Linked DNA regions of Homo sapiens: region 2 is linked to region 1. The links are contacts of gene promoters, found by promoter capture Hi-C in blood cells and fetal thymus (Javierre and others, 2016). All regions are on one chromosome and are shown on one strand. The core of a region is centred on a gene start or on the middle of the fragment in contact, and the rest is flanking DNA. Distances in the headings are between cores, read along the strand shown.

Region 1 (5,353 bases), core at 1,130-3,629:
TGAAGGGAAAAAAATATTAGAAATATAGTCTCCCTGGGTAAATTAGCGGTTCCCAAAATGAATTAAATATTTAAGAGACACTGTTCAAAGGGAATAAAAATTAAATGAGTTCTAGCCTTTAACTTGAGGGATGGTGCCCTAGGCTGGAGATTTCAGTATTTCTGTGTCCTGCTGTGTCCAGAGGTTTTCTTCTTAGAGATGTTTGGCTGAATCCTCACTCTGAAATATTGTTGCATTTGCCTCAAGCAAAGCTTTCATGAAAGGTAGTTTTGAAGTTAGTAAAACAACAATGACAACAACAAAAACAAATGACAAAACCGTGGGAACTTCATTGAGCTTAGAGAACAGGTTTTATGACTGTTTTTTGCTTGCTTTCTAATAAATGACTATATATGTACAAAATTTTGTTGAAGATCTTCTATCACTATAACTCGTTGGTATGTTGTAGCTAACTATCCCTTACTTTATACTATAAAGTAAGGTATAGTATAAAGTACTATAAAGTAAGCTGCCTACAGACATCTACCAAAAGCACCCAAAGTTGTGTATCACAAAACTGGCTTAAGCCAGTTCACAAAAATTCTTTATGGCAAAGGTCACCATTTTTTAAACACTGTCTGAAGACACTCAATAATACCTTCAACTGATCAGGAACAGAGATAAAATAATTGAATTAAGGTGCTAAATCTATTCAGAAAAAATATCCAAAAGTTAATATAAGGCAAAAAAAAAAGATATTAGTACTCTTTCAAAATAATACTAGAGCATTGTCTAACAAGCCCACTGAAGGGGCAAGTAATCCTCTAAGTTAATGGAACTTTTGGAGGTCACTATTTACTAATGATTAGAAAATAGATTACAAGGTTAAATGTCATTATGTAGAATATTAAGTTTTGAATGATTTTTACCCAGTAAAGATGCAACTAGTTTCTGTCTTTTAGATAAAAATAATCCCAAAGGCCATAGTTTTCACTGCCTCATAGGACATTAGCTAGTTTTTTACTTAAACTTGCAATCTCATGTCAGCATTATTTTTCCCCCACTGACTATACCTTTACCAGCCTTTTCTATTGCCATTGCAATCAGTTTACCATACTCCTCCTTTTCTCATTAGTGACTTAAATAAATATTTGGTGATTAGTTACTATATATATATTTGAAGATTATGCTTTGATAGCTTTTAAGGTACTCCAGTGGCTTAGCAAGAGCTACAAAGTGAGAAGGTGTTCACTTTATTATCATCTGGTGCATTCCTGAACGGGACCTCGCTAACCTTTCTCAGGAGAGAGTCTGTGAGTGGACAATGTCCAGATACATGCAAGACCCATTTAGGAATACAGATCTCAAGAGAGAGTTATCTGTGCTCAGCTTAATTCCACTCACCTCCGTGTCCCAAGTGGGACACATGTGCTTTCAGATTTGTGGCAATCTTTATAGCTAGGAAAACAACTCCCAATTACTCAGTTCAATTCCCTCTCTTGCTGAAGAGTTGGGAAGCATATGATAAAAGCTATGTCCAGGCAAACTGCAGGTGTCATAGGGAGAGGAAGCCTATTTTAAAGTCAAAATCCCTATCTACTTCCTACCCACCTCAGCCACAACAATATGCTTATTCTTGTAATGCTGTTCTAAAGATTTCAGGTTTCTGGGTCTATTATCACTCATCCTTTTCCAAGTCCAGGTAATTGAATGCCTGAGGACACCAGGTGCTGTTTCTCAGTTGATAGAAGCTGCTAGATCTTCCATGACTGTTGATTTTTATCAGGGTAAAATTAAGTGGGGGAAAAATACTGGAGGGGACACTGTTGTCAGAAATCAGTCCCCCCACACCCCTCCCAATCAGAGCTTTAATCAGACAGGAACCTTTTACTATTTCCCACTTTTGAGTTTCCTTAAATGGAGTTCAATGCTTATCACCTGATGGGAGTTTCTTAGCACTAAGTATGTGCCAGGGGCTCCCCGAGGAACGATGATCGATGATCCTAAGAACAAAGTGGAAAGAAGGATGTAAAGAGATGATGTTCTTTACCTGAGATCGACGTGCAGAACAAAGTGGAGATAGAAGGTAGCTAACTCACTGCGGCGCAACGGATTTTGTTGGTAATTGGCGTTGCTTGGTTCTAAAAAGGCTAAGGAAACCAATAACAATAAACTGTGTACACAATTCCAAACACGTTAAAGACGATGGAGTCGGATTACAGGGGGAAAGGCACTTCAAGTAATGCTATTTTGGGTTGGAAAACAATGCTCCAGGTGAGGCTCGAACTCACAACCTCGGCATCACTCGCACACATACTGCCATATAAGTACCGCGCGCTAACCGATTGCGCCACTGGAGCACCCAGTTTCTACTTCCGGTCACTCCTTACACAGCCTACACAGGAACATCCGGCGTGTTTGCTCTGGTCGTCACAGCACCGGTTCCTCGGGCGCGCGCCCTTAGTCCTGGGGCCGCTTCTCCCCCGGACGCGTGCGAAGGCGGACTGGGTTCCGCTGCGGTCTCCACGGGAGCCACCGGTCCTGAAAGCGCGGAGCATGCTTTGTTTGCGGAAACGAAAGCGAATACTTCTTTCCAAGGAGACTTAGGAAAGGGCAGACGCTCCCACTGCCTCAGGTGTTCCCTGGAGGACCTTCAAGTGGCCGCCGTGTGGGCGGGCTAGCGTCCCGCTGCTGCGCTGGTTCCGGAGCCCTTCCCTTGCCTCTCCCAGGGTCCTTCTCCCAGCGTCGGAGGAAGGCCCGCAGTCTGCGAGTGGAGTGCGGGTGGTGGGAATCCCTGGGAGGATTACGAAATCCTTAAAGTGGGATTTACCAAACGCATTCCTTTCCGCTCACTTCCGTTCCCGCTTAACAAACGTGTTGGAAACGTGTTGCTACTGAAAGGAAGTGGCGCTGGGCTGCATTTTCTGTGGCTAGTCTGCGAGAAACAGCCCTGGAATAGGGCCTCTATTTCTTCCTTGGAGCATCCCTCCCCGGGACCTGGGAGTTGAAACTCTAGGCTAAAGCAACTGAAGCAGGCCCAGGACTGGGTCTCTGAAATTCATGGTGTCTCTACGCTGAGTTAAACTAAGTTTTTCAGAAAATGTCTAACTAGGCTAAAGACCTTGTGCTTCAGAGTGTTTTGAGAGGAGAGTTTGGGGAAAAGGGCTCTCTCTAGAAGGTAAATTTGTATGGGAGATGGGGAGTGTGTGTTTACACGGAGTATCGGGCGTCTTTCTTATGGGTGGACATTGTGGATAAGAATGAGATATTAAGGCAGAATTAGCTGGGCTTTTAATCCCAAACAGTGTTTTAAAAATAAAAACTATATATTTAAGGTGTACAACATGATGTTTTGATACATGTACACAGTGAAATGATTTCTACAGTCAAGCTAATTAACATAATACATCTCTTCACAGTTACTATTTTGTGTAAGTGGTGAGAGCGCATGAAATGTACTCTCCGCAAGTTTCCAATGCACAATGCAGTATTAACTATAGTTATGCTATGCATTACATCTCTAGACTTATTCATCCTATAGAACTGCAACTTTGTATCCTTTGACCAACATCTTAACCATTTCCATACGTCTCCACCCCTGGTAACCACTGTTCTACTCTGCTTCTATGTATTTGACTTTTTTAGAATCCACATAAGAGATCATGCAGTATTTTTCTTGCTGTGTCTGGCTTGTTTCACTTAGCATAATGACATCGAGGTTCATCCATGTTGCAAACAGCAGGATCTTCTTTATTAAGGATGAATAATATTCTATTGTGTGTATAAACTATATGTGCTTTATCCATTCATTGGTGGACAGCCACTTAGGTCGATTCCATATCTTAGTTATTGTGAATAATGTTTCAATGAAGATGGGCATGCAGTTATTGCTTCGAGATCCTGATTTCATTTCCTTTGCGGATGTGAACACCGAAAATTTGAGACACGTTTCAGTTAATTTAGAAAGTTTATTTTGCGAAGGTTGAGGACACACCCCTGTGACACAGCCTCAGGGAGTTCTGACTACCTGTGCCCAAGGTAATCGGGGCACAGCTTAGTTTTATACATTTTAGGGACACATGAGACATCAGTCAATATATGTAAGAAGTACATTGGTTCCATCCAGAAAGGCGGGGACAAAGCAGGGAGGGGGCTGCCAGGTCTTACTTTTGAGTTTCTGATAAACCTTTCCAAAGGAGGCAATCAGAGTATGCATCTATCTCAGTGAGCAGAGGGATGACTTTGAATAGAATGGGAGGCAAGTTTGCACTGAGCAGTTTCCAGCTTGAATTTTCCTTTTAGCTAGTGATTTTGGGGGTGCAAGATATTTTACTTTCACAGTATATACCCAGAAAAGGTACTGCTGGATCATGTGGTAGTTCTATTTGTAATTTTCTGAGGAACAGCCATACTGCTGTTTTCCATAAAGGCGGTACTAATTTGCATTCCCACTCATAATGTAAAAGGGTTCCCTTTTCTCTACATTGCCAACACTTGTTATTTTTTATATTTTTAAATTGGTTATTCTAACAGGTCTGAGATGATGTCTCATTGTGGGTTTGATTTGCATTTCCATGATGATTAGAGATGTTGAGCATTTTTTCTATTGGCCATTTTTTATGTCATCCTTGGGAAAATATCTGTTCAGGTTCTTTACCTATTTTTTAATTAGATTTGGTTTTCTTGCTATTGAGTTGTATGTGTATATATATATATACCTTATATATTTTGGATATTAACTCCTTATCAGATACATGGTTTACAAATATTTTCTCCCAACCAATAGTTGCCTTTTCGTTTTGCCCATTGTTTTCTTCTCTGTGCAGATTTTTCGTTTGATGTAGTCTCACTTGTTTACTTTTGCTTTTGTTTCCTGAGCTTTTGGTGTCCTGTCCAAGAAATCATTACAAAGGCCAGTGTCAAGGAGGTTTTCCCTTACATTTTCTTCTAGGAGTTTTACAATTTCAGGTCTTCTGTTTAAGTCTTTAACCTATTTCGAGTTGAATTTTATGTAAGGTGTAAGATAAGGGTGTAATTTTTTTATTTTGTATGTGGGTTCCCAGTTTTCCCAACACCATTTATTGAAGAGGCTGTCTTTTCCCCAATGTGTATTTTTGTCACGCTTGTCAAAAATCAGTTGACTCTAAATGTGTAGATTTATTTCTGGGCTCTCTATTTTGTTCCATCGGTCTATGTGTCTGTTTTCATGTCAGTGCCGTGCTGTTTTGATTGTATGGCTTTGTATAGTATATTTTGAAGTCAGGTAGTGTGATGCCTCCAACTTTGTTCTTCTTTCTCAAGATTGCCCTGGCTATTTAAGGTCTTTTGTGGTTTTATGCAATCTTAGAATGTTTTTATTTCTGTGAAAAATATT
Region 2 (5,353 bases), core at 900-3,399, 400 kb after region 1:
TTTTTCTCCGTTGAATTCCTTTGCACCTTTATCAAAAATCAATTGCCCACACTCACGTAACAGTGTGTGTTCAAAAAGGCCTTTTCAAGTTTCACTGAAGATGCTACATTCAGAGTTTCATCCCTGAACTGTTTGTGATCTGTACTGTTTTCCAGTGACATCTGTTTACCCACTGCTACTTCTTTAACTGTAAACGGCCTGTGATTCAGTTAGTATGTTAAAAAAAAAAAAGTAATCTTCAATAAAAATACATATCTGAATCAGGAATTATGGCTGTAGATTCGGCTAAAAAAGACAAAGCTGCTCATGAGCAAGTGTCTTCTGAATCTGTGTTTGACTTTGTAGTTCTTTGCTTGTTATCTTTTCTATGGCAAAAAGTTATACTTTATTATTTTTTGGTCCATTTTCTTTTTTAAAGAATAGAAAATTCCAGAACGTTTTTGTTGTTCTTTTTTGTGGCATTTCTCAAGAAACCTATCAAAGATCATGATTCCTTGAAAACCAGGAGAAATAAGGCCAGGTACATGCTCTCTGTTGTTCATCTTTGAACTGAGCATTAAATCTCTGCACAACGTGTATAATTTTGAAAGCATCCTTTTTTTTTTTTTTTTTTTTTTGAGACACGAGTTTTGCTCTGTCACCCAGGCTGGAGTGCAATGGCGTGATCTTGGCTCACTGCAACCTCTGCCTCCCAAGTTCAAGCGATCCTTCTGACTCAGTCTCCTGAGTAGCTGGGACTACAGGCGCACGCCACCACGCCTGGCTAATTTTTGTATTTTTAGTAGAGACGGGGGTGTCACCATATTGGTCAGGCTGGTCTCAAACTCCTGACCTCGTGATCCGCCCACCTCAGCCTCCCAAAGTGCTGGGATTACAGGCATGAGCCACTGCGCCCGGCTGAAAGCATCCTTTCCTATAATGTCAGTCTGTCAATTTTAAATATTTTCTTCATTCTATATTGACATGATTAGAACATTAATATGCAGACAGATTTTTTAAAGAAAATGAGGAGATGATGGAGTCCCTTGAGTTTTTGACACTAAAAGAATAAGTGAATTATTCTTAAATCTCTTAATATTTTTAGCTATGATGTTATGATTAAAATTATTGATTTTGTATGAGTTCACAGTTGTTTTCTTATTCATTTCCATTATACATAGTAAATGGCCTTGCTCTAGATACCACACACATATTTTTGATAATATCATTCCAAACTCTTTCCTCTGTCTCTACTCCAAATAAAGTAGTATAATTTTCAAGGAAAAAAAATCAACTATGTATATTTGTATGTGTCTATTTCTGGACTCTCTGTTCTATTTCACTGGTTTGTGAGTCTATCTTTTCACTAATACCAAACTTTTTTTTTGGGTGGGGGGTGGAGGGGAATGGAATCTTGCTCCCTTGACCAGGCTGGAGTGCAGTGGCATGAACTTGGCTCACTGCAACTTCTGCCTCCCGGGTTGAAGCCATTCTCCTGCCTCAGCCTCCTGAGTAGCTGGGATTACAGGCATGTGCCACCACACCAGGCTAATTTTTGTATTTTTAGTAGATACCGGGTTTCACCATGTTGGTCAGGCTGGTCTCGAACTCCTGACCTCGTGATCCGCCCATCTTGGCCTCCCAAAGTTCTGGGATTACAGGCGTGAGCCACCGAGCCCAGCTGCCAAACTTTTAATGACTGTTTCTTTATAATAATTTTTATAATAGCTAGTTTGAGATCTCCAATTGTGTTCTTTTTCAAAATTGTTTTGGCCATTCTGATTCTTTGCCTTTCCATATGAATTTCAGAATCATCTTGTATACATATACAAACAAAATAATGATGGGTTTTAATTTAAATTGGGTTACATTCATAGATCAGATTGTGAGAACTAACATCTAAACTGTGTTTAGTCTTCCAATCTATGAACATGGTATATCCCTCCATTAATTTATCTGTTCTTTGATTTAGGTCTATAACACTTTGTAAATTTTAATATACAGACTCTGCACATGTTTATTAGATTTATATCTAAGTAATTTAATATTTTGGAGCTTCTGTACACAGTATGTTTTAAAATTTTAGTTTCCAATTATTCAATGATAGTATATATAGTATTGATTTTTTTATGATGAATTTGTATTCTGCAAACTCATTACTTATTGGTGCTAAGAATCTTTTATTTTTTATTTTTTTGAGATGGAGTTTCACTCATGTTGCCCAGGCTGGAGTGCAATGGTGCAATCTCAGCTCACTGCAGCCTCTGCCTCCCAGGTTCAAGCGATTCTCCTGCCACAGCATCCCGAGTAGCTGGGATTACAGGCATGCACCACCAAGCCCGGCTAATTTTGTATTTTTAGTAGAGACAGGGTTTCTCTATGTTGGTCAGGCTGGTCTTGAACTCCTGACCTCAGGTGATCAGCCTGCCTGGGCCTCCCAAAGTCCTGGGATTATAGGCATGAGCCACCATGCCCAGCCAGTGCTAAGAACTTTTTATAGATTTCCTTGGATTTTCTATGTAGACAGAAATGTCATCTGTGAATGGGAACATTTTTTATTGCTTCCTTTCCACTTTTTATGCCAATTTCTTGCCTTATTACACTGTCAAAAATATCAGTAAGACATTGAATAAGAGTGATGATAGTGGGCATCTTTAACTTGTACCTGAACTTCAGGAAAAGCATTCAGTCTTTTGCCATTAAATATGCTGTCTAATATACATAATTTGTAGATGTCATTTATTAGGTCAAAAATAGTTGCTAGGAACAGCAAACTCCTCCTAGTTTGCTGAAAGTTTTAATCATGAATGGTGGTTGATTTTTGTCAAATGCTTTTTCACATTCATTGATATGATAATGTGATTTTCTTTTTTAATCTGTTAATGTAGTAGAGAATATTGATTGATTTTCAAATATTCAAACAGCCTTGCACTTAAGGGATTAACCCCATTTACCAGTGGTGCGTTTTTAAATAGATTTATTTTTTAGAGAAGTTTTAGGTTTACAGCAAAATTGAGCAGAAAGTACAGAGAATTCCGACATACCTGCTACCTCCTCCACTATGCAGAACCTCCTCCACTATCAACATCCTGTACCAGAGTGGTACATTTGTTAAAATTGGTGAGCCTACACTGACACATCACTATCACTCAAAGTCTATAGTTTACATTAAAGTTCACTCTTGGTATTGTACATTCCATGGACTTTGACAAATGTATAATGACATGTATCCACCATAATAGTATCATATAGAACAGTTTTTCCCTAAAATCCTCTGTACTTTGTCTATTCATCCCTCCCTACTACCCTCCCTTACTCTTAACTCCTAGAAACCACTGGTTCTTACATTGTCTTCATATAGTTTTGCCTTTTCCAGAATGTCATATACATTATTTGGAATCATACAGGATGTAGCCTTTTCAAATTGGCCTTTTTCACTTAGTGGTATGCATTTAATGTTCATTTTGGGTGGGTGTAAATGGTATTGTGTTTTTAATTTCAAATTCAACTTGTTTTTTGTTGGTATATAGAAAACATTTCACTTTTGTATATTAACCTTATATCCTGCAACATTGCTATAATCACTTATTAGTTCCAAGAATTTTTTTCAGTTCTTTCAGATTTTCTACATAGACAATACTGTGAACAAAGACAGTTTTTATTTCTTCCTTTCCAATCTGTATACCTTATATTTTCTTTTCTTGTCTTATTGCATTAGCTAGAACTTCCAGTAAAATGCTGAAAAGGAGTGATGAGAGGGACATCCTTACCTTTTTCCTAATTGTATTTCTAAATATATATTGCCAGATTCAAATTCCTATTATTTTGCTGGGAATTTTTGTGTCTATATTTATGAAGGATAGTAGTAGTTTTTCTTTTCCTGTACTGTCTTTATTTGATCTTGATATCAGGATAATGTTGACTCTTCCAATGAACTGTTTCACATCTCAGCCTCCAAACTCTTGGTTTCCAATCCATTCTTCCAAGTTGCCAAAATGAACTCTTTTTTTCTTTGCCTTTAAAATTAAAATTATGGCTGGGCGTGGTGGCTCACACCTGTAATCCCAGCACTTTGGGAGGCCGAGGAGGGTGGATCACCTGAGGTTGGGAGTTCAAAACCAGCCTGACCAACATGGTGAAACCCTGTCTCTACTAAAAATACAAAATTAGCTAGGCATGGTGGCACATGCCTGTAATCCCAGCTACTCGGGAGGCTGAGGCAGGAGAATCGCTTGAACCCAGGAGGCAGAGGTTGTGGTGAGCCGAGATCGCGCCATTGCACTCCAGCCTGGGCAACAAAAACAAAACTCTGTCTCAAAAATAAATAAATAAATAAAATTATAATTATGTTCACTGTTTTGTTACTGGAAAGATATAATACAAGTAGAAAATTTGGAACAATATACCACTATAACATTGCCATTCCTCCCAATCCAGTCCCAAACCAGAGTTAATCACTTTATTACAGTTCAATCTATATCCTTTCAATTGTTCTTTTATGCCTTTGTAAACACATCTCTATCTATATATCAATAGCCATTTTAAAATATAAATAGAAGTATGATTTACATAATATACTGTGTATCAGGGACAAGATACAGAACACTCACACACACAGTCTGTCTTGTCTGTTTTCCCATCACATGACTTTATCTAAATTATCTTTATATTAATTAAACACTCCAATTTTTTTTTGGATATTTCCATTGTTTCCATTTTCCACTCTCCACTCTAATAAAGAAGCCCACTGTGAACACACCCCAGATCTGTGCTGAGGTCTTGGTGCCTTATCCAGACTTCCAGCACTGAGGTGTCTCCCTGCCACATCTCCATCAGGCCTGCACTGCTCGCCCCGGTGTTGATGTCCTGCTGCTAAATCCTTCCTCACCCCCTGCTGCTCCCTGGGGTCTGTGAGTTGGGAATATCCCAATTAGCTTTACTGATAACTCATTTTGTATCCAAAGGTTGAGGAGCCCTTGAAATAACAATTTTTTTATCGTTGGGCAGTATAAAGGTGGGTTTGATGTCCCGCGTAGGATGAGTTGGAGTTTGGAGAGGCTGGAGATGCAGATCCTATGGGAGATCAGTGCGAGAGCAAGGGCAAAAGCAGCTCCACATCTGACTCCTGAGAAGCACAGGACCAAGATCCCATGGTCTGTCTTCAGAAATCACCACCTCCCCAGTGAATTCTAAATATAATCTTGTCCTTTCCCGATAACTTCCCTCCCATCCTTGGTGCACAATCTGAAGTTGTCATAGGTGAGAGAGACGTGAAGGAAGAGGGACCCAGGAAGAATTTTCACTCAACGAAAAATTTCTAAAGACCTGTGGGGCAAAAACCCTGGAAACTTGAATTTTCCTGCGAGAGAGTTTG

Evidence for each region. The method cuts DNA at HindIII sites, captures the fragments that hold promoters and counts their contacts. A CHiCAGO score of 5 or more calls a contact.
Region 2: a fragment that was not itself captured here is called in contact with the fragment with the promoter of LARRPM in region 1 in 2 of 17 cell types (M2 macrophages and megakaryocytes); the score reaches 5.2 in M2 macrophages.

What each region holds. Positions count from the first base shown.
Region 1 is chr6:27,017,332-27,022,684 of GRCh38, reverse strand. LARRPM (LINC00240 antisense RNA regulating promoter methylation) reads left to right here and starts at 2,379. Exons shown (of 1, transcript NR_026776.1): 1 at 2,379-3,319. The region is part of intron 2 of LINC00240 (long intergenic non-protein coding RNA 240); the gene reads right to left. It overlaps TRI-TAT2-2 (tRNA-Ile (anticodon TAT) 2-2), which reads right to left and starts at 2,339; the gene lies at 2,246-2,339. RefSeq lists an enhancer at 2,375-2,634. The HindIII fragment of the contact is 5,623 bases long and covers 254-5,353 here.
Region 2 is chr6:26,614,740-26,620,092 of GRCh38, reverse strand. No RefSeq gene overlaps it. Among named protein-coding and RNA genes, the nearest start is that of ABT1, 20 kb to the right of the region's middle. The HindIII fragment of the contact is 9,729 bases long and covers 1-5,353 here.